2 separate regions of the Homo sapiens genome follow, and region 1 is linked to region 2. The links are contacts of gene promoters, found by promoter capture Hi-C in blood cells and fetal thymus (Javierre and others, 2016). All regions are on one chromosome and are shown on one strand. The core of a region is centred on a gene start or on the middle of the fragment in contact, and the rest is flanking DNA. Distances in the headings are between cores, read along the strand shown.

Region 1 (7,337 bases), core at 3,183-5,682, 140 kb after region 2:
TTTCATATGCATGTAAAAGTCTTTGAGAAAGCAAAGATGGGAATTGGCTTAAAGAGACATGAAAGTGATCTACATTTTTCTAAAGACTATATTGGACACTGACTGGTCCCATTTCTAACAATGTCCATATCCCTCCATATTAGAGGTTCTAACACAGTGTCCTGTACATCACATGAAATAAAGCCTGGAAAGTGCTTTGAAAACTGTGGGGGTGCTATGCCAATATTAGGGATAGTAATTGGTGGGTGCCCAATAGCTGTTAGTTGCTTCGTACATGCATTTCAGAGTCTCTCTATCCTTCACTAGAAGCATTTGCTTCTTCCTAATTGAAACATGTACTTGTGCAAATGTTCTCTAGGACTAGGTCACTGAGAAAAAGTAGCTAGTGTTCTGTGTGCTCCTCAGTACTGGATCCACTGCACTGGGTTTGGCTGAATTTCTTAAAGATGAGGAGGGTCAATTACACTATATTATAGAAATACTCCATGTGTGCACAGACATGCATATACCCAGAGGAAGACCCTCATTAGTGGGATGAAAAACTCATTAGGGAAAACTCATTAGATTTATTAGAGGAACAGAAAAAAAAAGATCCTGGAAGAAACATTTAAAAGCAGGGAGGAGAGGACTGGGGAGGATGGGAGAACTGCAGGAGGCAGTGGGTGGAGGGGATGGCAGGTAAAGGGTACAGAATTTCTCTTTGGGCTAATGAAAAGGTTCTAAAATTGATCAAGGCAATGGAAGTATATCTCTGTGAATATCTTGAAAGCCATGGAATTGTACATTTTAAATGGTGAGTTGTAAGGTATATGAATAAAGATATTTTAAAATGCAAAATGTGGGAGAGGGGCAGAGAAAAGAAGGCTTAAATAAATGTAAATAATTTAAGTAAAATTGTGGCTTGATATATAAAATAAATAGTCTAACTGAAAATATAAATCATTATATGCAATATTTTGAAGCTATTCAAGATGGAAATGATGGGGGTAAAAGAACTGGTTATCACACACAGCACCATGAGGGCCTGCTTTTTCAGCCCCCAGACAGAGCCTGTTTCTGCTTTGGAGTGTAGCAATGACACTTTATTACTACCCAGCCTTGCTCTATCAGTGTGACTACAGGAGTAGACTTACTGAACAGAAGAGTAATACAGGCATTTCTGTGTTCAGAATCTTCACATATTCATTTACAGCAGACATTTCTCTTTGCAGTTTTTCTTGTGGGTTTTATAATAATTTGCAATATATATACAAGTTGAAGAAACCACCTTAACTATTGTCTATACTTCTTCAGTTTTTTGGTACAAAAATAAGCTTCTTTCAATAAGACTCTCAAATTTTTTAAAGTGCAGCTATTTTTTACATTTTTACATCCAGATTTGGTAAGGTATTGAAAGAATATTGTATTTCAGATACAATTGGTGGGAATGTAAGTTGGTACAACCCTTTTGCAGAGCAAATTGACAAAATCTATCAAAGAGAAAAATGCGCATACCTGTCGACCCAGCAATATCACTCAGCAATTTATACTCTAGAGGATCAATTACACTATATTATAGAAATACTCCATGTGTGCACATACATGCACATACACAGAGGCAGAAAAATACAGTTTATTTTCTACTACCCACAGGTAGGATAGTGAGTTTCATAGCAACCCTAATAAAAGCAAGTTGGAACATTTGTCAGAATTATTTCCTTCAAACTCCTTTTTAGAATCCCTGGAGAGTCATTTAAACAGTGAACCACTGACCTAATTAACACAGTTAATCAGGATAAATAAGAAAGCAAAAGCTCTAATTCTTGAGACAGAGGTCTAATTCTTAATCCTAAACAAATCTGAGCAATGTTGATCATACTTTTGAAAGAATAGCCTAAAAGACAGGCTTACTCAGGGTTTTCATTACATTTCTGCAAAATGGCAGGTACTTCAACTCCAATCAAAAGAATTTCCACTTTTTTTTTATTAGAATCACAGTTTGCAAAAGAGTCGATGTCTATAATGGGGATTGGCTGAGTCCTTTAGAACTCTGTCTGGTAATGAGGCTGCATCAAAAATGGCTTTTCATGGTCGGGCACTGTGGCTCACTCCTGTAATCCCAGCAATTTGGGAGGCCAAGGTGGGAGGATCACTTGAGCCCAGGAGTTTGAGAGCAGCCTGGGCAACATAGGGAGACTCCCATCTCTAATAAAAAAAAAAAAATGGCTTTCCTACTATGTGGACTGTGAAGCAGCTTTTACTTGTGGTGACCAGGTCTTAAAATAATAATGTGATTTTTATTTTGTGGTAAGAGTGATAAAAATTCAGAATTCAGTAAGAGTAAAGCAGGAAAAGAGAGTTTTAAAAACACTATTCCAAATGTAGTGTTAAATATTTAAGATGAGCTTCTGTTACTGAAAACACAGAATGCAGTCTTACAAATTTCTTAATTAAAGGTATAAAGTTGGCCAGATCTACATCTTTCTGCCCAGGCCATTCAAATTAACCTAGAAAATTATCTTCTGAATTAAAAAAAACTAAGAATGAGCCATTCCCCGCAAAAAGGATCCATTTAAACTGTAAGAGATGGTGTGCCCCTGAAATGGACACAATTACATGCTCATTAATTTCTGTGTACAAAGAAAGGAGGCCCAGAAGTGAACATCTAATCTAGGTGTCTCATTTGCATGTTTCAATAATCTGGCTGTTTTTGTTTTCTTTCATTTCCTTTGTGGGCTATTGTGCCACAAATATACCTCCATTATCAAATTCAAAATTGAATCCTATGATACCATAGCCTGAGGAAAAGGAAGCATTGAATATCATTCCCAGTTTTAGACCCAGAAGATATTTAGGAAATGTTACTGTATATACACCACATGCAACATTAGTGCTTTTAATTTCCTTTTTACGGGTGCAATGGAGATTAATTTGCATGAGCTCGTTTCAATTTCAGTAATAAGATCCAAATTTTGCATTAAGCTTTCAATCTCAAAAACAAACAGTTAAAAAGCATACATCACTTCTTTCAAATGTCTTTACTATACTTCTGTTTTACAGTCCCTGCATCTAATATTCCCCTAAAAGGTTGAATATATATACCTGTAGGTTCTAATTTGTTTCTTGTTTGTTTCCTGACTATCTCCTGGCTCTGCCAGGAAACTTCCTAACTTTCAAATGCTGTACAACCCAAAAAAATGCTAGAAATATCAAAAGAAGTGTCTACAGATCCAGAAAAGACATTTATTGAATTTAATACAATGTCAGAATTGGTCAACTATGCTCAGAAACATAGGACCAAGTGTTCCCTAATTTGAGAGGGTAAATAAGTAACAACAGAAATAAGAGAAAAAACCATAGATATTTCAAATGATCCTGTTTTAATAATTGTCACTGAAAATTAAAGTCCGATCCAGATACCAAATCTGTTTCAACAATAATAGCTAGAGACAAGAGTAAAAATTTCTTTAAAGTTTTAAAACAGGTGGAAGAAGATCCAGAAATATTTATTCCAAGATTTGTAAGCGGGGATAAAACATGGCTACACTGGATAGTCCTGAAGAAAGAGCACAAAACAAAGGCTACCAAAAGGTGGCAGCACTCCAGTCAAAGACAGAGAGGACCAGTCAAGAGAAGAGGTCATGGCAACAGTTTTGGGGAATGCTCAAAAGATATGACTAAAAGACTTTTTGAAGGGCCAAACCAAGATCAAATATGCTTACTAACAGAGTTTTTGAGAAAACTAGCCAAAGCATGAGCAGAAAAACCATTACCAGAGAGTTCTACCTAATCATGAAAAAGTTCTTGCTGTAGCATTTCACTGAACAAAGGGCAGTTTGGCAAGAGTTTCAAAAGGAGATCATGAGGCGTCCACCTTGCAGTCATGATGTGGAACCTGCTGACTTCTATTTATTTCCTCGTATTAAAAATTCTGCAAACGGCACCCAGTTTTCTTCAGTTAATAATGGAAAAAAGATTTCTTGGAAATAGTTAAATTCCCAGAAACATCAGGGCTTGAGGGACAAGGCGGGGTCAAGACAGTGCTCGAACTACTGTCTCGAAATTGATGGAGCAGATGTTAAGAAATAAAATCTACCGGTTTTATTTTTGTCTTTTAATCCCTGTTTTGACAAATTTGGGAAGTCCCCTCACACAACATCAGTCCTAGGCAAAGAGTTGTTATCCTGTATTGGTTCTTCTTTCTATGATTTTGTCTTGCTGTGTTATTTTCTGTTTTACTCCCAAGAAGATTCAGTCTGTGTTTTTTGGAATTCACAGATGTGGAACCTGCGAACATGGAAGGTCAACGGTAAAACTCAGTGGGGTGTGTCGAGGCTGAAATTAACCTAATCAACCTCTGGGGCACAGCAGTCCACCTGGCGTGGACCGTCCCGATTGTCTGCATTGTGCTGACGGCATGAGTACGTATGGGGGCGGGGCAGCCCAAGAGCTAAGAGGGTCAGGGCTAGAGCCGTGAGTGTCAGCCTGGGATGGGCTACATAAGGCCCAGCTCTGGCACCAGAGCTTCATTCTTTGTTGCACAGCAAACTGCAGAGGTCACTCCAGGCTGTGGCTCCACATCCCGAGGAACAAAAGCGGGCCTGCTCAGCTGTCTGCAAGGACGGCCGTTCCAGACCAAGTGGCCTGCTGCTCCGAGGACCCAGCTCGCTCCAGGCTGTGACTCCACATCCCGAGGTCGCTGCCTGGCGACCGGGCAGCGAGGACCGGCCACCCCAGACTTCCTGTCCCGCAGCCCCAAAGACAGAGCTGCGACCGCCGGGACAGCGACGCCTGCACAGCTCTGGTGAGATGGCGGCAGGGTCCACTACGCTGCACGCAGTGGAGAAGCTGCAGGTGCGTCTGGCCACTAAGACGGAGCCGAAAAAGCTAGAGAAATATTTGCAGAAACTCTCCGCCTTGCCCATGACGGCAGACATCCTGGCGGAGACTGGAATCAGAAAGACGGTGAAGCGCCTGCGGAAGCACCAGCACGTGGGCGACTTTGCCAGAGACTTAGCGGCCCGGTGGAAGAAGCTGGTGCTCGTGGACCGAAACACCCGGCCTGGCCCACAGGACCCTGAGGAGAGCGCTTCCCGACAGCGCTTCGGGGAGGCTCTTCAGGACCAGGAAAAGGCCTGGGGCTTCCCAGAAAACGCGACGGCCCCCAGGAGCCCATCTCACAGCCCTGAGCACAGACGGACAGCACGCAGAACACCTCCGGGGCAACAGAGACCTCACCCGAGGTCTCACAGTCGCGAGCCCAGAGCTGAGAGAAAGTGCCCCAGAATAGCCCCAGCTGATTCCGGCCGCTATCGGGCCTCTCCAACGCGCACAGCTCCCCTCCGGATGCCCGAGGGCCCTGAGCCCGCTGCGCCCGGGAAGCAACCCGGAAGAGGCCACACTCACGCGGCTCAGGGCGGGCCTCTGCTGTGTCCAGGCTGCCAGGGCCAACCCCAGGGGAAAGCCGTTGTGAGCCACAGCAAGGGGCACAAATCGTCTCGCCAGGAAAAACGCCCCTTGTGTGCCCAGGGAGATTGGCACTCCCCTACTTTGATCAGGGAGAAATCATGCGGGGCCTGCTTAAGAGAGGAAACCCCAAGGATGCCCTCCTGGGCAAGTGCCAGGGACAGGCAGCCTTCGGACTTCAAGACAGACAAGGAAGGGGGGCAAGCTGGCAGCGGCCAGCGTGTCCCTGCCTTGGAGGAGGCTCCAGACAGTCACCAGAAGAGGCCTCAGCACAGTCACTCGAACAAGAAGAGGCCCAGTCTAGACGGCCGGGACCCAGGAAATGGGACACACGGCCTGTCGCCCGAGGAGAAAGAGCAGCTTTCCAACGACCGAGAGACTCAAGAGGGGAAGCCACCGACTGCTCATTTGGACAGAACGTCCGTGAGCTCCCTCTCTGAGGTGGAGGAGGTAGATATGGCTGAGGAATTCGAGCAGCCCACTCTGTCATGTGAAAAATACCTCACCTACGATCAGTTGCGGAAGCAAAAGAAAAAGACTGGAAAATCTGCCACCACTGCACTTGGAGATAAACAAAGGAAAGCAAACGAATCCAAGGGCACTCGTGAGTCCTGGGATTCGGCTAAGAAATTGCCTCCTGTCCAGGAAAGCCAGTCAGAGAGGCTGCAGGCGGCCGGCGCTGATTCCGCCGGGCCGAAAACGGTGCCCAGCCATGTCTTCTCAGAGCTCTGGGACCTCTCAGAGGCCTGGATGCAGGCCAACTACGATCCGCTTTCGGATTCTGACTCCATGACCTCCCAGGCAAAGCCAGAAGCACTCTCTTCACCAAAGTTCCGGGAGGAAGCTGCTTTCCCTGGACGCAGAGTGAATGCTAAGATGCCGGTGTACTCGGGCTCCAGGCCTGCCTGCCAGCTCCAGGTGCCGACGCTGCGCCAGCAGTGTGCCCAGGTGCTTAGAAACAATCCGGACGCCCTCAGCGACGTGGGAGAGGTCCCCTACTGGGTTCTTGAACCTGTTCTGGAAGGGTGGAGGCCCGATCAGCTGTATCGCAGAAAGAAAGACAATCACGCACTCGTTAGAGAGACAGACGAATTACGGAGGAATCATTGTTTCCAGGACTTCAAGGAAGAAAAGCCACAGGAAAACAAAACTTGGAGGGAGCAGTACCTGCGGCTTCCGGACGCCCCAGAGCAGCGGCTGAGAGTAATGACAACGAATATCCGATCTGCACGTGGAAACAACCCCAACGGCAGAGAGGCAAAGATGATCTGTTTCAAATCTGTGGCCAAGACGCCTTATGATACTTCAAGGAGGCAAGAGAAGTCTGCAGGAGACGCTGACCCCGAAAATGGGGAGATCAAGCCAGCCTCCAAGCCCGCGGGAAGCAGCCACACTCCCTCCAGCCAGAGCAGCAGCGGCGGTGGCAGAGACAGCAGCAGCAGCATCCTTCGCTGGCTCCCTGAGAAGCGGGCCAACCCCTGCCTGAGCAGCAGCAATGAGCACGCGGCGCCCGCGGCCAAAACCCGGAAACAGGCTGCCAAGAAAGTGGCCCCGCTGATGGCCAAGGCAATTCGAGACTACAAGAGAAGATTCTCCCGACGATAAACTCAGGACTTGCCTTGCAGATAAAATCTGGGGGGATTTTTGCATTGGCAAAGTCAATGCGGGTTGGGGAACGAAACTTCCAATGGACACCAGAACCTTTAACTTGGTGCAAAGTTGAGCCTTTGAATTCTGCAGGTGTCATGTGCTGGCCCTGTGATTTTGCCTCCCACACCCAGCCACTACCTCCCAGCTTGGAGAACACCTCAGAATTCAGAAGATATGAACGCATTGGGAACAATTCTATTTTGGATGTTCACTGATAATTTTTAAAAACACCCTAGTTGTAA
Region 2 (6,913 bases), core at 278-2,777:
CGTGGGTAAATCTTTGTTCGGGGATCTCAGCTCTGAAGGCTATAAGACCCCTGATTTCCCACTTCACACCTCTGTGTGTGTCTTTAATTCCTCTAGCACCGCTGGGTTAGGGTCTCCCCAACCGAGCTGGTCTTGGCATACCCTTTTCATTGGTTTTTTGCCTGCTTTATATCCTGGCCACTCCAGCAGCTGATTAGATGGTGCCCACTTGGATTAAGAGTGGACCTGTCTTTCCCAGCCCACTGACTCAAATGTTAATCTCCTTTGGCAACACCCTCACAGACACACCCAGGATCAATACTTTGCATCCTTCAATCCAATCAAGTTGACACTCAGTCTTAACCATCACATACAGCTAAGCAGGAGGCTAAGGCAGGAGGACTGCTCGAGCCAGGAGCTGAAGGCTGCATTGAGCTATGATGGTGCCACTGCACTCCAGCCTGGGCAACAGAGCAAGACCCTGTTCCTGGGGGGGGAAAAAAAAAAAGAAGAGGCTCAGAGGATCTTGGTTGGAGTTTGGTCAAGGAGGGGATGTTTCTCACTGAGTAATTTTAAAACAGTTATTTTGTTTTAGCATTCTGAAATCTGAAATGGGAATATTAGTATCTCCTGTATCTCCTGGGAGCATCAAGTGCAGTACTGAGCAATAGAAATATAATGCAAGCGTCACATGTCATTTACAGTATCTTCATAACCACATTAAATAAAATAATTAAAAATAAACAAGAAACCTTCCTCCCTTCCTTCCTTCTTTCCTCTTGCTCTGTCACCCAGGCTGGATCTCGGCTCACTGCAGTCTCTGCCTCCCGGGTTCAAGTGATTCTCTTCTCTCAGCCTCCTGAGTAGCTGGGATTACAGGAGCCCACCATCACACCCAGCTAATTTTTGTATTTTCAGTAGAGACAGGGTTTTGCCATGTTGGCCAGACTGGTCTCGAACTCTTGACCTTAGGTGATTTGCCCGCCTCGGTTTCCCAAAGTGCTAGAATTACAGGCGTGAGCCACTGCGCCCGGCCTCAAAATATTTTCATTTCAACATGTTATCAACATTTAAAAATTATTGGGAGGCCGAGGAGGGGGGAATCACGAGGTCAGGAGATTGAGACCATCCTGGCTAACACGGTGAAACCCCGTCTCTACTAAAAATACAAAAAATTAGCCGGGCGTGGTGGCGGGCACCTGTAGTCCCAGCTACTTGGGAGGCTGAGGCAGGAGAATGGCGTGAACCCGGGAGTCGGAGCTTGCAGTGAGCCGAGATCGTGCCACTGCACTCCAGTTTGGGCGACAGGGCCAGACTCCATCTCAAAAAAAAAAAAATTATTGGGATATTCTTCATCCTTGTTCCAGTTCCAAGTGTGTGAAATCCGGTGTGTATTTTGCACCTGCAGCACTGGCCACATCAGAGCATTGATTGCACATCACCGGTCTAGACAAGCGGCAGGACTTGCAGTCTTCAGCGAGGGGCGGTTCTTAGCCAGATGGAGGCGGGGCTTCCCGGAGAGTTCGTTTTGGGCCCCATCGGCTTCCGTAGGAAGGCGCCGGCCGTGGAGGCGCCACGTCCCTTGCGGCGGCGGGAGAGAAATCGCTTGGACTTCGGGGCGGCCTCGGACGGCCATGGCCTTTACCCTGTACTCACTGCTGCAGGCAGCCCTGCTCTGCGTCAACGCCATCGCAGTGCTGCACGAGGAGCGATTCCTCAAGAACAGTGAGTGGGACCGCGGGGCGCGGGCTGGGGCGGCGGCGGAGTCCCCGGGGGCGCGTAACCTAATGGGGCCGCGTGAGGGGACACCAAGGGCCGGGACAGAAGAACAGCGGAAGGCTCGGCTTGGAGTGGAAGCCGAGCCTTTCCTCTCATCAGGTTTGGGCTCAACAGCCGGGAGAATATTCAACAGACACCCGCTGTGCAGGGCCCAGGGGGTTGGGGTGGAGGGATATAGAAGTCAGTCAGGGACGCCTCTGCTTGCGATTACTTCAGGTCAGTAATTTAATTCAGTTTTCTGTGACTACTTTTTTTTTTGAGGGGGAGTCTCGCTCTTTTGCCCAGGCTGAAGTGCAGTGTCGCGGTCCTGTGACTACTTTTAATAGTCGAAAACCCGGGGTCTGAGTTTCGGGCTAAGAGTTGGGGGTGTGGGGCCGGGCGCGGTGGCTCCCGCCTGTAATCCCAGCACTTTGGCAGGCCGAGGCCGGCGGATCATGATGTCAGGAGTTTGGGACCAGCCTGGCCAACATGGTAAAACCCCGTCTCTACTAAAAATACAAAGATTAGCCGGACGTGGTGGTGGAAATACAAAAATTAGCCGGGCGGGAGGCTGAGGCAGGAGAATCACTTAAACCTGGGAGGCAGAGGTTGCAGTGAGCCGAGATTGCGCCATTGCACTCCAGCCTGGGCAATAGAGTGAGACTCCGTCTAACAAAACAAAACAAACAAAACAAAACGAGTTGGGTGTGGAGGGGAAGGAGGCGTGACCCATTTTGGAGCATCAGTAGTTCACTAACTGATGGAAGGCAATAAGTGTTCCTGGGCTTTAGGAATTACAGGAAGGGAACGTGTTGGAGTTATCAGGACATTCAGACACTCATGTTCCAAGAAAAGTTTATTCAGATAGCTTATTGGGTGCATAGAGTGTGCCAAAAACTCTGCTAGAATTTAGAAATTCAAAAATGAAAACACAAGTTATACCTTCCAGGACCTCACGTTGTGTACCAAGTATGCCCGTTTGAATCACTGAAACGTAAACCCAGGAGCAAGATTGATTCATTTCATTTACTTCAGAAGATATTTATTGAGTGCAAAGTATGTGCCAGGCCCATTTATAGTAACTGAAGTTACAGCAGCTACTCTGCCCTTCTGATGGAAGTTAATCTAAATAAAAACTAAACAAATGACAATAACAAGTATAGAGAGTATTATGTAAGAGAAGTACGGGCAGATACTAACTTGTGTATCTGCGAAAGCTTCTTGGAGGAAGCGTGTCTAACCTGAAATCTGATACATGAGTAAACATTAACTCGGTGAAGGTGAAGGGTTGGGAGGAGCTGGAAGGGTGAGGAGAGCTTTAAGCAGTGTAGACCTGGTGTGAAAACTGAGGCAGGTGAGAAGAGGGTCTTAAGACAGCGACATGACCAGATTTGTGTTATTTGCAAGATCCTTGAGGCTACAATACGGAGGAAAGATTGGAAGGGAAAGCAGTGGATGTGGGAAGACCCATTTTTTTTTTTTTTTGAGACGGAGTCTCACCCTGTCCCCCCGGCTGGAGTGCAGTGGCGCAATCTCGGTTCACTGCATCCTCCGCCTCCCAGGTTCAAGCGATTCTCCTGCCTCAGCTTCCCGAATGGCTGGGATTACAGGCACGCACCACCAAGCCTGGCTAATTTTTGTATTTGTAGTAGAAATGGGGTTTCACCATGTTGGTCAGGCTGGTCTCGAACTCCTGACCTCGTGATCTGCCCACCTCGGCCTCCCAAGGAAGAACAATTCTAAATAGGGCAAGTAGATACAAGTGGGTATGACAACAATAATAATAGCTAATACTTACGTAGCACTTACGTACAGGATCTGTATCAAGTGCCTTACATATATTAACTGGTGTAGCCTTCACAGCAACTCTATGAGAGAGTTTCTGTTTTCCAGTGGAAAACTAGAATCACAAAGAGAGTAGGTGGCTTTTGTAAGAACACACAGGTAGAAAGTAGAAAGTGGTGGAGCTAGGATTCAAATGTCATCTTCCAGAGTTCATCTGTTCACCGCTATCCAGAAAAGTAGAAGGGATCAAGTTGGGGTTTGAATTGTGTCCCTCAAAAAGATGTGTTGAAGTCCCAACCCTTGATACCTATGAAGGTGACCTTGTTTGGAAACAGAGTCTTTGCAGATATAATCAAGTTAAGATGAGATCATACTGGGTTAGATTGAGGGCTTTAGAGCCAATGACTGGTGCCCTTATAAGAAAAGAGAGATTTGGAGACACACAGATGCACACGCAGAAGATCATGTGACAACTGAGGCAGAGATTGGAGTGATGCATATATAAGACAAGGTATACCAAGGATTTCCAGCAACTACTGGATGTTAAGAGAGAGGCATGGATGAGATTATCCCTCAGAGCCCCCCAGAAGGAACCAACCCTGCTTACGCCTTGATTTCAGACTTTTAGCCTCCAAAATTATGAAAAAATTTCTGTTAAGCCACCCAGTTTGTGCTGCTTTGTTATGGCAGCCCTAGGAATTTTATGTGGATCAAAAGATATTTTAAAAGTAGAGGCTGGGCATGGTGGCTCATGCCTAGCACTTTAGGAGGCCAAGGTGGGCAGATCACTTGAGGTCATGAGTTTGAGACCACTCTGGACAACATGGTGAAACCTGTCTCTACTAAAAATACAGAAATTAGCAGGGTGTGGTGGTGGGCGCCTGTAATCCCAGCTACTCTGGAGGCTTAGGCAGGAGAGTCACTTGCCTGGGAAGCAGAGGTTGCATTGAGCTGAGATCACGCCACTGCACTCCAACCTGGGTGACAGAGCAAGACTATGTCTCGAAGGAAGAAAAAAAAGGTATAAAAGGCAGAATTTACTCTTGGACTTTGGGAATAAGAGTGGATGAAGTCAAAGATCTCTTGGCCCTCTGGGTTAAGCCACTGAGTGAAGGGTAATACCTTTACTGAGTTAAACAGTATTGGAGGAAAATTTGGGGTGATGGTGCTAGGTAAGAAGGTGAAGATATAATGAAATAAATTTTAGTCATGCTCAGTTTGAGATTTCTATGAGATACGCAAGTGGAGATGTAAAATAGCCAGTTGCATTTAAATCCATAGAACAGCAGCACGAATTAGGGCGGAGATTGAAATTTGAGTTTGTCAAGCATAGATAATAAATGAAGTCATGTGAGAAGATGAAATTATGAAAGAAAACAGTAGAGTACAAAAAGAATTGGTGCCCCAGACAGCCCTAGAATCTCCTCTAGTATTTATTGTTTAGGTAGAGATGGAAGAACTGACAGGAGAACTTGACAAGTGAGCAAAACAGAGAGATGGAAAAACCTAGACAGTGGGATTTCACCAGAGTCAGGAAGTGTTTGAAGAGATACTACAACAGTGGGATGTTACTGAGTAGCTTAGTACAGTAGTCCCCCCTCATCTGTGGTTTGTCTTTCCACACTTTTCAGTTGTAGCCTGCCATCTGAAAGTACTAATTGGAAAATTGCAGAAATAAGCAATTCATGTTTTAAATTGCAAGCTGTTCTGAGTAGCGTGATGAATCCTGTATCATGAGGACATGAATCTTCCCTTTGTCCAGCATATGCACATTGTATATGCTACCCACCTATTAGTCACTTGGTTATCAGATTGAAAAAAATACACTACATATACGGTTGGGTACTATCTTCTGTTTCAGGCATCTACTGTGGAATCTTGAAGTGTATCTCCAAGATTAAGGGGGAGGACTACTGTAAGTTAAGGACTGAAAAGAATCCTGATTCAGGGTAGTGGAGGTCATTGGTGATTTTATAAGAGCAATTACAGCAGTGGGTAAAATCCAGATTGGAATGGATTGGGAAGTGAGTAGAAAGTTATAAAATGGAGACAGTAATATTATCCAATGTTATCTTTAAGTTGGAGGAAAAGAAGAAAAGGTAGCTTGAAGGGATATGGGGGTGTGTTTTATGGTGGTGGTTTTGTTTTTAGAGCTTGAGGTATCTCAGCAGTGACAGTGAAAACTAGCCCTGTCTCTTCAACAAGTCAGCACTATGAAGAGAGTGGAGGAGGGGATGATCAGTGAGGCATATACACAAAATGTTTTCTAAGAAAGACCAAAACAGAAGGCCCAGCACCGTGGCTCATGCCTGTAATCCCAGCACTTTGGGAGGCCAAGGTGGGCGGATCACTTGAGGTCAGGAGTTCGAGACCAGCCTGGCCAACGTGGAGAAACCCCGTCTCTACTAAAAATACAAAAAATTAGCTGGGTGTGGTGGCACCCAGCTACTGGGGAGGCTGAGGCAGGAGAATGGCTTGAACCCAGGAAGCGGAGGTTGGAGTGAGCTGAGATCCCACCACCACCCTACAGCCTGGGCGACACAGTGAGACCCTGTCTCAAAAAAAAAGACCAAAAAAGAGAAATGTCAGTCTGCTAAATCTCAGAACAGTAATAGTCTCTGTCATTTGAGCCACAACCTGCTCTCGCAGCCTCCACAAAAAAAAAGCAAAAGGAAGGAAGTAATAAAGATTACAGTGAAAGTTAATGAAATACATAGTAGAAAAATACTAGAATTAACAAAACCAAAAGCTGATTCCTTGACAAAATTGACAAGTCTTTAGCTAGACTGACTAGACTCAAGTAAATGGGAAATCCGAATAGACCTATAACATACAAAGAGAGATAATGAATAATTTAAAAACTTCTCATGAAGTCAAGCCTTCAGCATTGCTTTCTACCAAACATTTAAAGAAGACTTAATACCAATTTCTCACAAACTCTTCCAAAAGATGGAGGGGATAGGACACTTTTCAATTCATGCCATGATGTCAGTATTAACCTAATATGAAAACCAGACAGCGACATCACAAGAAAAGAGACTATCGACCTATATCTCTTTTGAATATAGCTGCAAAAATTCTCAACGAAATACTGGCAGACTAAATCTAGCAACCTATAAAAGAGATTATATACCATGAACAAGTGGGATTTGATTTATCTTGGGAGTACAGGATTGGTTTAACATTTGAAAATCAGTTATGTAATCAGTGATATTAATAAAAATCACACAGTCTTCACAAAAAATGCAGAAAGGCATTTGACAAAAATCCAGTACCCTTTCATGATAAAAAAAAAATACTCAACAAACTAACAATAGGAGGGAACTTTCTTAATCTGATAAGGAGCATGTATGAAAATTCCCTAGTTAACATCATACTTAATGCTGGAACA

What was found. The method cuts DNA at HindIII sites, captures the fragments that hold promoters and counts their contacts. A CHiCAGO score of 5 or more calls a contact.
Region 1: a contact is called between the fragment with the promoter of ELOA2 here and the fragment with the promoter of IER3IP1 in region 2, in 2 of 17 cell types (M2 macrophages and total B cells). The highest score is 5.7, in M2 macrophages.

Annotation. Positions count from the first base shown.
Region 1 is chr18:47,032,716-47,040,052 of GRCh38, reverse strand. ELOA2 (elongin A2) reads left to right here and starts at 4,432. Exons shown (of 1, transcript NM_016427.3): 1 at 4,432-7,337. The coding sequence starts at 4,789. The coding sequence ends at 7,050. All of the region lies in intron 3 of KATNAL2 (katanin catalytic subunit A1 like 2), which reads right to left. The HindIII fragment of the contact is 9,917 bases long and covers 2,964-7,337 here.
Region 2 is chr18:47,170,978-47,177,890 of GRCh38, reverse strand. It overlaps IER3IP1 (immediate early response 3 interacting protein 1), which reads left to right and starts at 1,527. Exons shown (of 3, transcript NM_016097.5): 1 at 1,527-1,704. The coding sequence starts at 1,614. RefSeq lists enhancers at 1,359-1,488, 1,499-1,618. The HindIII fragment of the contact is 4,620 bases long and covers 1-2,956 here.